Regions from separate parts of the Homo sapiens genome. Here region 2 is linked to region 1. Evidence: promoter capture Hi-C in human tissues and cell types (Jung and others, 2019). All regions are on one chromosome and are shown on one strand. The core of a region is centred on a gene start or on the middle of the fragment in contact, and the rest is flanking DNA. Distances in the headings are between cores, read along the strand shown. Region 1 holds the start of DNAJB7 (DnaJ heat shock protein family (Hsp40) member B7). Region 2 overlaps TNRC6B (trinucleotide repeat containing adaptor 6B).

What was found. The method cuts DNA at HindIII sites, captures the fragments that hold promoters and counts their contacts. A contact is called where the count stands out against the background at its distance.
Region 2: a fragment that was not itself captured here is called in contact with the fragment with the promoter of DNAJB7 in region 1 in 1 of the 25 tissues and cell types used here (dorsolateral prefrontal cortex).

The regions. Positions count from the first base shown.
Region 1 is chr22:40,860,863-40,867,674 of GRCh38, reverse strand. DNAJB7 (DnaJ heat shock protein family (Hsp40) member B7) reads left to right here and starts at 5,562. Exons shown (of 1, transcript NM_145174.2): 1 at 5,562-6,812. The coding sequence starts at 5,681. The coding sequence ends at 6,610. The region is part of intron 1 of XPNPEP3 (X-prolyl aminopeptidase 3); the gene reads right to left. The HindIII fragment of the contact is 4,259 bases long and covers 3,191-6,812 here.
Region 2 is chr22:40,257,867-40,264,678 of GRCh38, reverse strand. It overlaps TNRC6B (trinucleotide repeat containing adaptor 6B), which reads right to left. Exons shown (of 23, transcript NM_001162501.2): 4 at 2,506-2,847. LOC124905121 (a long non-coding RNA gene) reads left to right here. Exons shown (of 2, transcript XR_007068107.1): 2 at 4,311-5,637. Among named protein-coding and RNA genes, the nearest start is that of TNRC6B, 83 kb to the right of the region's middle. The HindIII fragment of the contact is 8,779 bases long and covers 1-6,812 here.

The DNA of each region.
Region 1 (6,812 bases), core at 4,313-6,812:
GTCAGTGGCTCAGCCTCCCAAGTAGCTGGGACTACAGGTATGTGCCACCAAGACTGGTTAATTTTTTTTATTTTTGGTAGAGATGAGGTCTCACTATGTTGCCCAGGTTGGAAACCCACACCAATTTCTTTGTAATCATCTTAGAAGCTATGATTTTTCTTTTTTTTAAATCTTTTTAGAAGAAGCTATGATTTTTCTAAACAATCTTCTACAAACTGGAATTAACTTTTAAGACTCTTCTCTCCCAAATACATATATTATTATTCATAATTCATAGTCCTTACAGAAATTGTATGTTCACAAGGAGATTGTACAGTATTGATTGTTGAGATTAAACAGAGAGGACCTAGTGAGCGGCAAGGGGGAGGGATAAGAGCAAAGATTATGAAGTCAAATAAACCTGAGTTTGAATCTCAGCTTCTCTGGTACTAAGTGTGTAACCTTGTCCAGATTACTTCTCTGAGTCTGATTCTGTGTTTGTAAAATAATGATGATAATGCCTACCTCACGTGACAGTTAAAAATCTAACTCCTTAATTTAGAATACAAAGCCTTCAAAGCTATCTTACCTTCCTAATCTTTTCATCTCCCTCCAGCAGCACTAACCCACTGGTGGAGTAGGCTGCTGTTGCATTGGTGATTTCTCTTTCTCTCCTCCTGCACCTTCTCCACATGCACGCTCGTGCACACGTACTCATGCACACATAGTGTCTTCTGTAATCTCATTAGGCAGTAAAATTTCAGAATATAAAAAGTTAACTGATTCCTTTTTCAATGCTCATATGAAATAATCCTAGCATATTTTGGACCACTCTCAAGCAGAGGGAGCTTAACTTTATTAAATTCAAAGCAAACAAGTAACACTTTAACAGGAGACATAAATTAAGATGTTTATTCCCAGTAAATTTTTAAAAAAGGTCTCAATAGCTTTTTACTTACATTAAACATCTTTTGCCCGAAGTCATATAATTAGTAGCAAAGCTGGTGTGTTAAGTCCTATTTCAAAAATATCCAGTTCATAAGCTTCAAACTCTTTTGCTTAGGAAACTTCATGATTTGGATCCTGCTCCCTTATCTGACCTAATCCTCAAAAAACATTATTGCAGCCACACTAAGCTACTTGAAGAACCCCGGCTAAATCATTCTGCATCATAATAGCATTTGCATTAAAAAATATAGTTCTCTTAGTCTAAAGTGGACACTGCCTGCTTATACGATTACAGAAATTCTAAAAAATACCAGCTCAAACATCACTTACGCAAGAGACTTCTCTTACTCTTCTCACACCTACTGCCTCTGTTCTGCTTGTTTCAGATGTCTTCCCCAACGCTCCTATGATTTCTATTTTAATACCTACTACACTTCACATAATTGCTAATTAGTTTGCCAGTCTACTATGAACAATCTTTGGAAGCAGAGATCACTTGTTATTTGACTTTATTTTCCCAGTGACTTGATTTGAAATGTATTTTGAAGTTAAAAGTCAATGAGTCTGGCTTCTAATTGGACATAAGAAATAAAGAAAAAAGAGGAATTAAGAATAATTCTTGATTTTTGACTTGAACAAGTGAATAAATGGTTGTACCACTACATGCAACAGGAAAGCCTGAGATATTTATTGGAAATAAATTTAATGGAGAGGTCAAAGAGCAATCTTAATTTCAGGGAGAAAAGTGCTAGGCTAGATATATAAATTAGGGTGTTATAAGCACACAGATGGCATCTAAAGCCCTGGGAATGGGTATTACCCAGGGAGACTGAACAAAGCCTGGCACTGTAATATTTTAGTGTGAGAAAGAGCACAGGAGAAAGAAGGAAAACTAGAAGAGTACAGTATTTAGTGCTGGGCATGGTGGCTCATGCTTGTAATCCCAGCACTTTGGGAGGCCGAGGCAGGCAGACAGATCACTTGAGGCCAGGAGTTCGGGACCAGCCTGGCCAACATGGCTAAACCCTGTCTCTACCCGCTGCCCCCCCGCCCCCCACAAAAAAAGAGTGTGGTATTTAGGAAGTTAAAAAACAAGTGTTTTAAGAAGTGGGGAGGACTATGCCAGGCGCAGTGGCTCACACCTGTAATCCCAGCACTTTGGGAGGCCGAGGCAAGTGGATCACCTGAGGTCGGGAGTTCGAGACCAGCCTGACCAACATGGAGAAACCCTGTCTCTACTAAAAATACAAAATTAGCCAGGCATGGTGGCACATGCCTGTAATCCCAGCTACTCGGGAGGCTGAAGCAGGAGAATGGCTTGAACCTGGGAAGTAGAGGTTGCAGTGAGCCGAGATCACACCACTGTACTCTAGCCTGGGCAACGAGAGTGAAACTCCATCTCAAAAAAAAAAAAAAAAAAAAGTGAGGAGGGCTCACAGTGTGGCAAGTGCTTCAAAATACAAGGAAGCCAAAAGGACAACCACTGGATATGGTAACATCAATCACTGGAGACCCTGGCGATTTTAGCAGAGTAAAGAAGACAGAAGACAGATTGGAGTATGCCAAGGAGGGAATAGGATGTAAGAAAGCAAAGACACTGAGACAATACTCTGGATAAGTTTTGTTGTGAAGAGGCAGAGAAAATGGCACAGCGGATGGCTGGGAGGCAAAGGATCAACAAAGAAGGGTATAACTGCAGAAACAAGTGCTCGTATTATAACTTTACACTCCACTGAAATTAGTTTTTTCAAACTATATGAATTTCTTAAGAGCAGAATTTCCTATTTTCTACCTTTTCTCTGTATCATAGTGTCAGAGGCGTTTGAACCAGAGCAACTCCATCTTCAGTAGGGGTTTGGTAAAATAAGGCTAAGACCTACTGGGCTACATTCCCAGTAAGTTAAGGCAGTCTTAATCACAGAATGAAATAGGAAGTCAGCACAAAATGCAGGACACAAAAACCCTGCTAATAAAACAGGTAGGTTATAGTAAAGAAGCTGACCAGCTGGGTGCGGTGGCTCATGCCTGTAATCCCAGCGCTTTGGGAGGCTGAGGCGGGCAGATCACCTGAGGTTGGGAGTTCGAGATCAGCCTGACCAACATGGAGAAACCCCCTCTCTACTAAAAATACAAAATTAGCCGGGCGTGGTGGTGCATGCCTGTAATCCCAGCTACTCAGCGGGCTGAGGCAGGAGAATGGCTTGAACCCGGGAGGTAGATGTTGCAGTGAGCCAAGACCCCACCATTGCACTCCAGCCTGGGCAATAAGAGCGAAACTCCACCTCAAATAATAATAATAGTAACAATAATAATGAAAATAAAATAAGTCCCTGTCAAATTTAGACACTGCGAACATCTTCTCCTAGACTGTCACCTTCCTGTGAGCTTTACCTGTGATGTTCTTAAAAAAAGGAGCTGGCCAAACCCCACTAAAACTAAGATGGCAATGACAGTAACCTCTGATTGTCCTCACTGCTACACTCCCACCAGCACCCCAAGAGTTTACAGATGCCATGGCAACGTCAGGAAGTTACCCTATATGGTCTGAAATGGGGAAGCATGAATAATCCACTTCCTGTTTAGGATATAATCAAGAAATAACCATAAAAATGGGCAACCAGCAGCCCTTGGGGCTGCTCTGCCTATGGAGTAGCCATTCTTTATTCCTTTACTTTCTTAATAAACTTGCTTTTACTTTACTCTGTGGATTCCACTGAAATTCTTTCTTGCACGAGATCCAAGAACCATCTCTTGGGGTCTGGATTGGGACCCCTTTCCGGTAACAGCAGGTTCTCAGTATCTGTTTGTGGAATGCCTAGAACCTAAACTCTTTAAGTCCTAGTCCGAGAAATGCAGTAGAGTGGAATGAGAACTTGAAATTAGACTCAAGTTTAAAAATCAGATTTTTCACTAACAAGCTATGTAGCCTTAGACAAATTACTTTCTCTCTCAGAACGTCTGTTTTCTTATGGGCATAAAATATTTATTTTGCTAGAGTGCTGTGTCAGTTAAATGAGCACTTGCTACAGTGTGACTCAGAGGGTACTCAAATAATTTTCGACATTATTGGTTATTATTTCCAGTGGTAGGCAAATTATAATCATGGGTAAGCCACACATAAGTACATGTAAGCACATACACTGGAGAGAATTTAAATTGAGTTTTAAGCATTTCACAATACCTCTAAAAAATGAGTATATATAAAAATGCAAAGCAAAAAAATATTCAGACCTGACAAATGGTCTTGAAAGACTAGAAGCATACACTACAGTTTTAGATTTCATTAGCGTATCATTTAACTGAGGGGTTATAAATGTGATGGAAAATAAAATAAACACAACATAGAGGAGGAAAAACAAAGATTACAGGGAATTTTCTCAGACAATAAAATGAGCCAGGTATAGAATATAAGACCTTTAAATTCGGGTCTAGACTACTGGTAGTTTATCCCCAAAGAAAATCACCTTTGGTCTGTTTCTAATTTGGCTCTCGAATTCTACTTTCCCATACATGACTGAATTTCCAAATAGTAGCCACTGATCCATTACAAATGTAAATCACATCATTAAACTTGCATATTCCCCACTCCCCACAAAGGCTTCCCACTGTACTTGAAATAAGTGCTAGCTTTATGTCCAACAGCCCCAACTGGCAACAACCAAAATGTCCATCAACATGGCCAGTGGCTACCATATTAGATCACTATGTGGCTGACTGTCATATAGGTCTCAGCAATAATGTCATCTCCTCAGAAGCCTTCTAAAACCAATCTAAAGTAGCGCTCTGCCCCCAGCACATTGCTATTTTTTTTGGAGCACATATCGCATTATCTTAAATTATTTTATTTGTTCTCCTATTTGTATTCTATTATAATGCAAGCACCAGGAAAACTGGTGTCTTTTGTTCAATACTGCTATCACCAGTGGCTAAAACGGTGCCTGGCACAAAGTAGACAATCAATAATTATACAGTGAATACATAAACACACAACTTTCCAAATCTTTAATTACATGTTTTACAGCAGTAAACCTTGGGTGGACAAAGATACTATAATCTCAAATGACTTACCACTGGCATGCAGAAAGTTAACATATCAGGCTACTTCCTCCAAGAGGCTTTCATTGACACCCCCAGCCTGAGCTGTCTCTCATATAATTGTTTAGCATCCAGTACTTCCTCTCATCATAACTATTATATTGTAACTAAGTTACTTGTTTGTATCTCCCTCTGAACTGTTTCTTGACTGAAATAAATATGTCAACTGTTTGAATACTTTCTTCACCCGTAAGTCAGTACTTCATTTTTCTAAACCAAAGCATAGAAGAGCTGGGAAGCAATTAAGGCGCAGTAATCTAGAGGTCATATTATGCAAGGGATATGCTGTGGCTATTAGCAACAGATTCCATTGGCTTATGAGGCACTGCCTGAAGCTTCCAGGGAAACATACAGGGGAAACAGTCCAGAGGATTCAGGATGGTCTGGTACGACTCTGGACTAGCTCTATTTGGAAGGTCCAGTCCCTACACTGACCCCAGAATGACACCATAATGCAGCCCTCTCTGACATATTTGTAACTCTGCTTGCCACATAATCAGTATCCTCATCTCTTAGCACATGGTAATAACATTGTCTTTAACATAAAAGTGTACCTATTTGCAGTCACTACCTCTATCACCACCACCAGCAGAGCCTGAGCTGAGGAAACCACGGTTCTCAATACCCAGCACACCCACTTCCAACTATCTGTTAAAACATGGTGGATTACTATGAAGTTCTAGGACTGCAAAGATATGCTTCACCTGAGGACATTAAAAAAGCTTATCATAAAGTGGCACTTAAATGGCACCCTGATAAAAATCCAGAAAATAAAGAAGAAGCAGAGAGAAAATTCAAAGAAGTAGCTGAGGCATACGAGGTATTATCAAATGATGAGAAACGGGACATTTATGATAAATATGGCACAGAAGGATTAAACGGAGGTGGAAGTCATTTTGATGATGAATGTGAGTACGGCTTCACATTCCATAAGCCAGATGATGTTTTTAAAGAAATTTTTCATGAAAGGGATCCATTTTCTTTTCACTTCTTTGAAGACTCGCTTGAGGACCTGTTAAATCGTCCAGGAAGCTCCTATGGAAACAGAAACAGAGATGCAGGATACTTTTTCTCCACTGCCAGTGAATATCCAATTTTTGAGAAATTTTCTTCATATGATACAGGATATACATCACAGGGTTCATTGGGGCATGAAGGCCTTACTTCTTTCTCTTCCCTGGCTTTTGATAATAGTGGGATGGACAACTACATATCTGTTACAACTTCAGACAAAATCGTTAATGGCAGAAATATTAATACAAAGAAAATTATTGAAAGTGATCAAGAAAGAGAAGCTGAAGATAATGGAGAGTTGACATTTTTTCTTGTAAATAGTGTGGCCAATGAAGAGGGCTTTGCAAAAGAATGCAGCTGGAGAACACAGTCATTCAACAACTATTCACCAAATTCTCACAGCTCCAAACATGTATCTCAATATACTTTCGTGGACAATGATGAGGGAGGTATATCTTGGGTTACCAGCAACAGAGATCCCCCTATTTTCTCAGCAGGAGTCAAAGAGGGTGGTAAGAGGAAAAAAAAGAAGCGTAAAGAGGTGCAAAAGAAGTCTACCAAAAGGAATTGTTAAATTGACTCTTCAAATATATAACATTTGAACACAATTGTGTGTGTTTTGGTTAATCACAAATTTTGTAGATAACACTTAATACTATACTAAGAGCTTTTCAACACTTTTAGCAGGATTGTGGACATTTGGTTAGTAGTTTTTTTGAATGGGTATGTCAGAAAAGGATGAGTTTGTGGTGACAGTTGGTGCTAATAAGAATTTG
Region 2 (6,812 bases), core at 2,188-4,687, 600 kb after region 1:
AGATCATCTTATTAATCACAGCTTCAAATGCATTCATTACCCATTAATCCCTCAAAGGGGCTCTCCTTTGAGCTCTGCCCTTAGGAGAGCTGATCACATGCCAGTTTCTCTCAACCCAGTTGCTTGTATCACAACTGTCTTAGTCATCTCTTTTTTTTCATTTGCCTTGTGTTACACCGGTTAAGTCTAACTTCATCTCTCTCAAAGCTACGTCCTTTGCCATTCCTATTGACAGAGAAGGGCCTTCTTGTATCTTGGGACAAGGCAATAGCAATGGCACTCTAAACTTGCTCTGTATCTTCAACCTACTCTAAACACCCCTGGCTGGAGCAATCTTTCTAAAGCACACTTTTGATTATATCACTGCTGTATGGAGAACCTTCAACAGTTCCTTAGTGCACAAGAATAAAGCTGAACTCCTTGGCCTCGAATGTCATCAAGATGTTCCATGACCTGGGACCAACCAACTTTTCTAGTCTTATCTTCTACTACCTCCTATGTAGATGTCAATATTCGATACTACTTGACATTCCACAACTTGTGCCTTCTCACTCTGGCACCATTTCACGTTGGCACCTACTGTGTTTTCCTGCTGAATTCACACAGTGAAATTTACTCATCCTTCTGGGCCCAATTCAAGTGTCATTTCATCTGCGAAGCTGTTTTCAAGCTCATCACCTGAAAATAATCTTTCCCTGTCTAGAGCCATTTTGCTCAGTGCTGTGGCACCATGTTCACAACTTTCCTTCCCCATGTTAGCGTCTTTTAGGCAGAGACCCTAACTTGCTAACGTTAGAATTCCACACAGCAGCCAGCACAATGCTGCGGAGTAAGCATCTGCTGAATGATGAATACCCACTGAGCCACTGAGCTAGGTGCCCAGGGTGGCAGGGGTGTCACATGAGTATGAATTAGGCAGAGTTCACAACCCCAAGGAACTTAATCTGTTAAATGAGTCTGGCTCACCATATATTTTGGTGGAATTTACCATATTTGGTGGGAAAAACATGTTTTTAATGAGATCATTTCTTCTAAATTTATTTTGGCTTCTTTAACCAGGCAGCTTTTAATCAATTTGAAGTTTCAAAAAGTATTATACGGAGGCATAGAAAAATAAAAAGCATAGAAACCGAAACTCGAGATTTAGGGGCCTCCTCCGTTTTAATAATGTGGACTCTGACTCACACTGGACCCCAGTCTCCACCTAGGCCTGGCTACACTCGGCTGCAGAAACTCCGCCTGACAGGGCCTGCCCCTTCACATGCTTCCTTTTGCAGCTGGTTTGGAGAGCCAGGAAGGAAAGGCCATGGGTAGGGCTTATCTCTGCAGGAAGTCTGTGTCACCACGAGGTTTCTTTCCATCCTTACTCTGCACACAGCAAGATGGTGACCAAATTTTCTAGGCAATTATTTGTTTAAACTCAGAACTCAAATAAAGCATCCTACTGGTGACAACCATCAATTCATTATCTTTGCCAATGCCTAATGGTATTCAAGCTCTGAATTTTAATATCACCCCAAAAGACATTTTAAGTTGAAATCTGTTAATAAACTTTAAAAGATATTTAGAATTTCTTAGCTGTTAGTTGACTTAGTATTCATCTATTAAAAACTCTCACAACTTTTTTTTTTTTTTTTTTAAGACGGAGTCTGGCTCTGTCACCCAGGCTGGAGTGCAATGGCGCGACCTCGGCTCACTGCAAGCTCCGCCTCCTGGGTTGACGCCATTCTCCTGCCTCAGCCTCCCGAGTAGCTGGGACTACAGGAGCCCGCCACCATGCCTGGCTAATTTTTTTATATTTTTAGTAGAGACAGGGTTTCACCATGTTAGCCAGGGTGGTCTCGATCTCCTGACCTGGTGATCCACCCGCCTCGGCCTCCCAAAGTGCTGGGATTACAGGCGTGAGCCACCGTGCCCGGCCAAAAACTCTCAAAACTTCTAGTAGAACCTTTCAGCTAAATATCCCTTATTTCTACATACAGTTTTTAACAAAGCTCAAAATCCAGGGCCCACAAAAAGAAATACTGAGTTTAAAAATCTAATTTAAAAACTATAGTATTATTTTAGAATCCTCCGAAGATTCTATATTGCAATGTAGCAAATCATTTTCTCTATCCTCCTAGCATTCTGGAAACATAACACAGGCATCTAAAGATTCGCCTTCGCACAAGCCCCATGTCCAATTATGCCCTGAACACATATGACGGTGGAACTATGGAGGCTCAAATTTGTAACACTCTAGTCTGAGAAGGAAAAAAGGCCCCCAAAATAATAAGCAACAGCAGTTAAGTTAGCCCTTATGCCAAGAGCACACACTTACGGAACACTAAACCTCAGTTCCAAGAATCACCAATACACATCGCATACTAGGATCCTCTCTCATCTTTTGACTAATCCCAGTGGTTTATATAATGAATGGCTTTCCTGGACTTTACATCAAGCAATGCAAACAAAGTGCTCTCTCTCTGTCAAGCTGCCATGCATTCGATTCACAGGGTGCCTTACCTGGCGCAGTCCCACTCTCACTCTGCAGCAGCGCTCCTGTCACTTGTGCGTTGTTTGGGTTTGCTCCAGGTGCTGTGCAGGGAGGAGGCCCTGCCCCACCCCCAAGGAGCATGCAGGACGGTGGAGGGGGCTGCCCACGTTTTAGTAACACTTTGTGGTCCTGCTGGCAACGGAATCGCGGCGGCACCTCCCGAGGCATGTAGCGGGCGGCGCTTGGCGGTTGTCCGTTCGGCACTGCCACCCTTTTGGCATTGTTGCCACCATTGACTGGTGGCGATGGAGAGCTGCCAATTGGGCTGGCGGCCGTTGGTTGGCTTAAACTTGGTTTCGTCACTTCGGGCACTAAAAGAGAGGGGTTGGGAAACAGTCTTTGAAATACATCAAATACATTTTTTCTAAAAATTTTAAAAATAATTTTATTATTTTATTTAGAGATGGGGTCTTGCCATGTTGCCCATGCTGGTCTTGAACTCGGGCTCAAGGGACTCTCCCACCTTGGCTTTCCAAAGTGCTAGAATTACAAGAGTGAGCCACTGTGCCTGGCCAAGATTATTATTTATTTATTTATTTATTTATTTTTGAGACGGAGTCTCACACTGTCACCCAGTGTGAGTGTCGCCCAGGCTGGAGTGCAGTGGTGCAATCTCCGCTCACTGCAACCTCCGCCTCCCAGGTTCAAGCAATTCTCCTGCCTCAGCCTCCCAAGTAGCTCGGATTACAGGCGCCCACCACCAAAACCAGCTAATTTTTTGTATTTTTAGTACAGACAGGTTTTCACTATGTTGACCAGGCTGGTCTTGAACTCCTGACCTCATGATCCGCCTGCCTTGGCCTCCCAAAGTGTTGAGATTACAGGCATGAGCCACTGCACCCAGCCTATTTTTTATTTTTTTGAGATGAGGTCTTGCTGTATAACTCGGGCTGGAGTGCAGTGATCTTGGCTTGCTGCAACTTCTACCTCCAGGGCTCAAGTGATCCTCCCACCTCAGCCTCTTGAGTAGCTGGGACTACAATGCATACACCACTATGCCCAACTAATTTTTTTTTCCTCCTCTAGAGACAGGGTTTTGCCATGTTGCCTACCTAGACTGGTCTCGAACTCCTGAACTCAAGCTATTTACCCACCTCGGCCTCCCAAAGTGCTGGGATTACAGGTGTGAGCCACCACACCCAGACCCTGGCTAAGATTATTTGTAAGAAAGCTTACATGGTACCAATTCTAACAAAGTAACTTCTCCTTTTACTCTACTCTCAAGGGAAACAGTTTTTCCAAATTCTCCACAATCTCTCCAGTTTGCTGAAGGTAGGATGAAGGTGGCGGCTGACAGTGACAAGAATTTAAACACAGCAAGGTCATGGAATACATTCCATTAATTAAGGCGGAGAGGGAAGCAATCAACATTCACTCCCCTAAATCAACAGTGGAATTAATTCCCTGAAGTGCTGCCTAGAAGAGTTAAATGTCCATGGCAAAGTCCTTGGGAAAGGTTTCAAGCCTCAGTCCAAGGGTCCCTTCCCTTCATCCACATTCTTAAAAGATCTACCCCTGAGTAAACTTTATTGAAGCCCCTGGCCTAGATGGGCTAAACATTCTTCCTAAGTGCTCCTGGAACACATCATCCATCTCTCTCTACCATGAAAATTCTCCATTCAAAAATCCATCTATCTCTACCACCGAAATTCTCCATCTACAAGTCCCATCTCTCTCTATCACAGAAATTCTCCATTTACAAGTCCTTCTCCCTCACCAGGCCATGACTTCCTGAGGGCAAGGACCCATCTTTCATCTTTTCTTTCTTCCTTAGGGCATGGCACAGAGTGGACTCTTACAAGAAACTCCAGGCCTAGAAAATCACAAACTCAGCTTGGTTCTGGTTTCTACAGCTACCTGGACTCAAAGACTTGCACCGCTCTCTGTGTAAATACTAGAAATGTTACAAATCTTTTTGCTTTTCTTTAAAAAAAAAAAAAAGTGTTTCTTCCCAATTCTTTAAAATAGAAATTTCAAAATGTAAATACTTTTTCTGTTTACTTTAAATCATTTGATTTTTTTAAACTTAATTTTAAAAATGGCCCGCACACAGCGTGGGAATGTCGGGGCAACCGTGAAACCGCACTCTGCCGGACCCTCTGGCTCTTCCCGTCGAACATACAGAGAAGGCTCTCTTAGATCTGTACCTCCCTCGCTGCATGCTGCCAGAAGATCACTACCCTCTCCATAAAAATCTACCTGGCAAATAGAGGCTGGAAGTCGTACAGAAATAATCATCAAGCCTGACAGTTCGGATGATTCTGAGGCCCAAATCCCTGCCTCCCAGGGTAACGTCAGGGCCAACTCTGGGGGTAGTACTGCTTTGACTGCTAAAATGATGCGGGGCCAGCATGTTGCTTGCTGAACTGGCTCCTTTATGAGAGAGATACATCATCAGAAATCAGGCGGCCCAATCTATGCCACTACTGGACATTAACATACTGTGGGTGACAGGAGAAAAGAGCAGGTGCCTGCAGCAATTTCCAGGTAACCCCATGTCTAACCTCAGCTAATCACAAGGCAGCACCAGGCCTCCCAGTAAGGGGAGGGGGAGTGGAGGTCAGAGGATCCAAAATCTGATGAGCAGAATAAATGTGTGACTTAAGAAAATAAAATTAGTCGGCCAGGCGCGATGGCTCACGCCTGTAATCCCAGCACTTTGGGAGGCCGAGGTGGGTAGATCACAGGGTCAGGAGATCGAGACCATCCTGGCCGACATTGTGAAACCTAGTCTCTACTAAAAATACAAAAATTAGCTGGGCGTGGTGGCATGCGCCTGTATTCCCAGCTACTCAGGAGGCTGAGGACGAGAATTGCTTGAACCTGGGAAGCGGGGGTTGCAGTGAGCCGAGATCGTGCCACTGCCCTCCAGCCTGGGCCACAGAGCAAGACTCTGTCTCAAAAAAAAAAGAAAAGAAAATTAGTCATTATCTAATATTCATGACCTATAACAACAGATGGATACATAACTGGTAAATGAATGAATGAAGATTATTTAATATTAATTTTCTATCTGTTACTGGAGGATTCTATAGCACAGGGCATTCGCAATCCCCTTTTATCTTATTATGAGAATAAACAAGAAGTTGGCAGAGACTGGAGAAATTCATCCCAACTGGTTTTTAGGACAGAAAGAGCTATGTTTCTGTAAGGCTGCCCTGCTATAAAGGTCAAGAATCTTCATTATAAGTTACCCAGGTCTACTACATACTTTTAACTCAATCCAGAAAAACAACAAGACATGACAGAGTGACCTGCAGGACTGAGGGCTGAACACCAGTTTGACTCACTTTAAAACATTCACAGCACTGTTTCAACTGAAGAAATTTGGTAGGTATCACGTATCATGTAAGATTCCTTGCAAAAGTTCCTCAGGGCACTTTCCCACCACATCAGAGACAGAATGGATTGTAAATGATAAAGTCATTATAAAATGGGAACACACCTCAACCACTTTCCTCCCAATACAGTGTGCTCTGGCCCAGGAGATTAGTCATTCAAACTCCAGGACATCATGTACAAATAGGTCAAAGTATAAAAAGAAAAAAACAAAACCTCCAGGAAACAGTCAGAAAACGCCCAAGACACCACCTTAGTCATAGCAAACTGTGTTTCAGCACCTGAATGAATTCTTACTCTATTTTTTAAATCACACCTTTCTGTGAATCCAAGAATGTTAAGCTTTTAAAGGCCAACCAGAATTGCCGGCACTAATTGGAGAGCAACACAGCTTTTCAGGCAGGATGTCTGATCCAAATTGACTCCCAAAGTCCAAACTTAAGACATCAGAATCAGTGTGCATCACCCATCATCATGGTCCAGAATGTTAGACGATAAAGGGCAAGAGAAGCTATCATTAAAAGTCTGAATATGTTACTTTTCAGGCTGTCTCTTTTCTGAATCTTAAGGATTTGTAAGTTGTGCAAGTTTTTCTAAAGATGAGCTGTTCAAAGTAAGTGCATAGTTTCTTATCTTCCAGAGGAAAGGTTTGTGGCTTAAACATGATCTCAGTACTATAGGGAAATAAAAACATTGTGGGGTAAAAAAAAAAAAAAAAAAAAAAAAAAAAAAGGCTGTGTATCCTATTTTCTGATTTCCATTCATTTACTTCTTTTTTTGTTTGTTTTTTGAGACTGAGTCTTGCTCTGTTGCCCAGGCTAGAGTGGAGTAGCAGGATCTCAGCTTCCTGCAACCTCCACCTTCCAGGTTCAAGTGATTCTCCTGCCTCAGCCTCCCGAGTAGCTGGCGTGCACCACCACGCCTCACTAATTTTTGT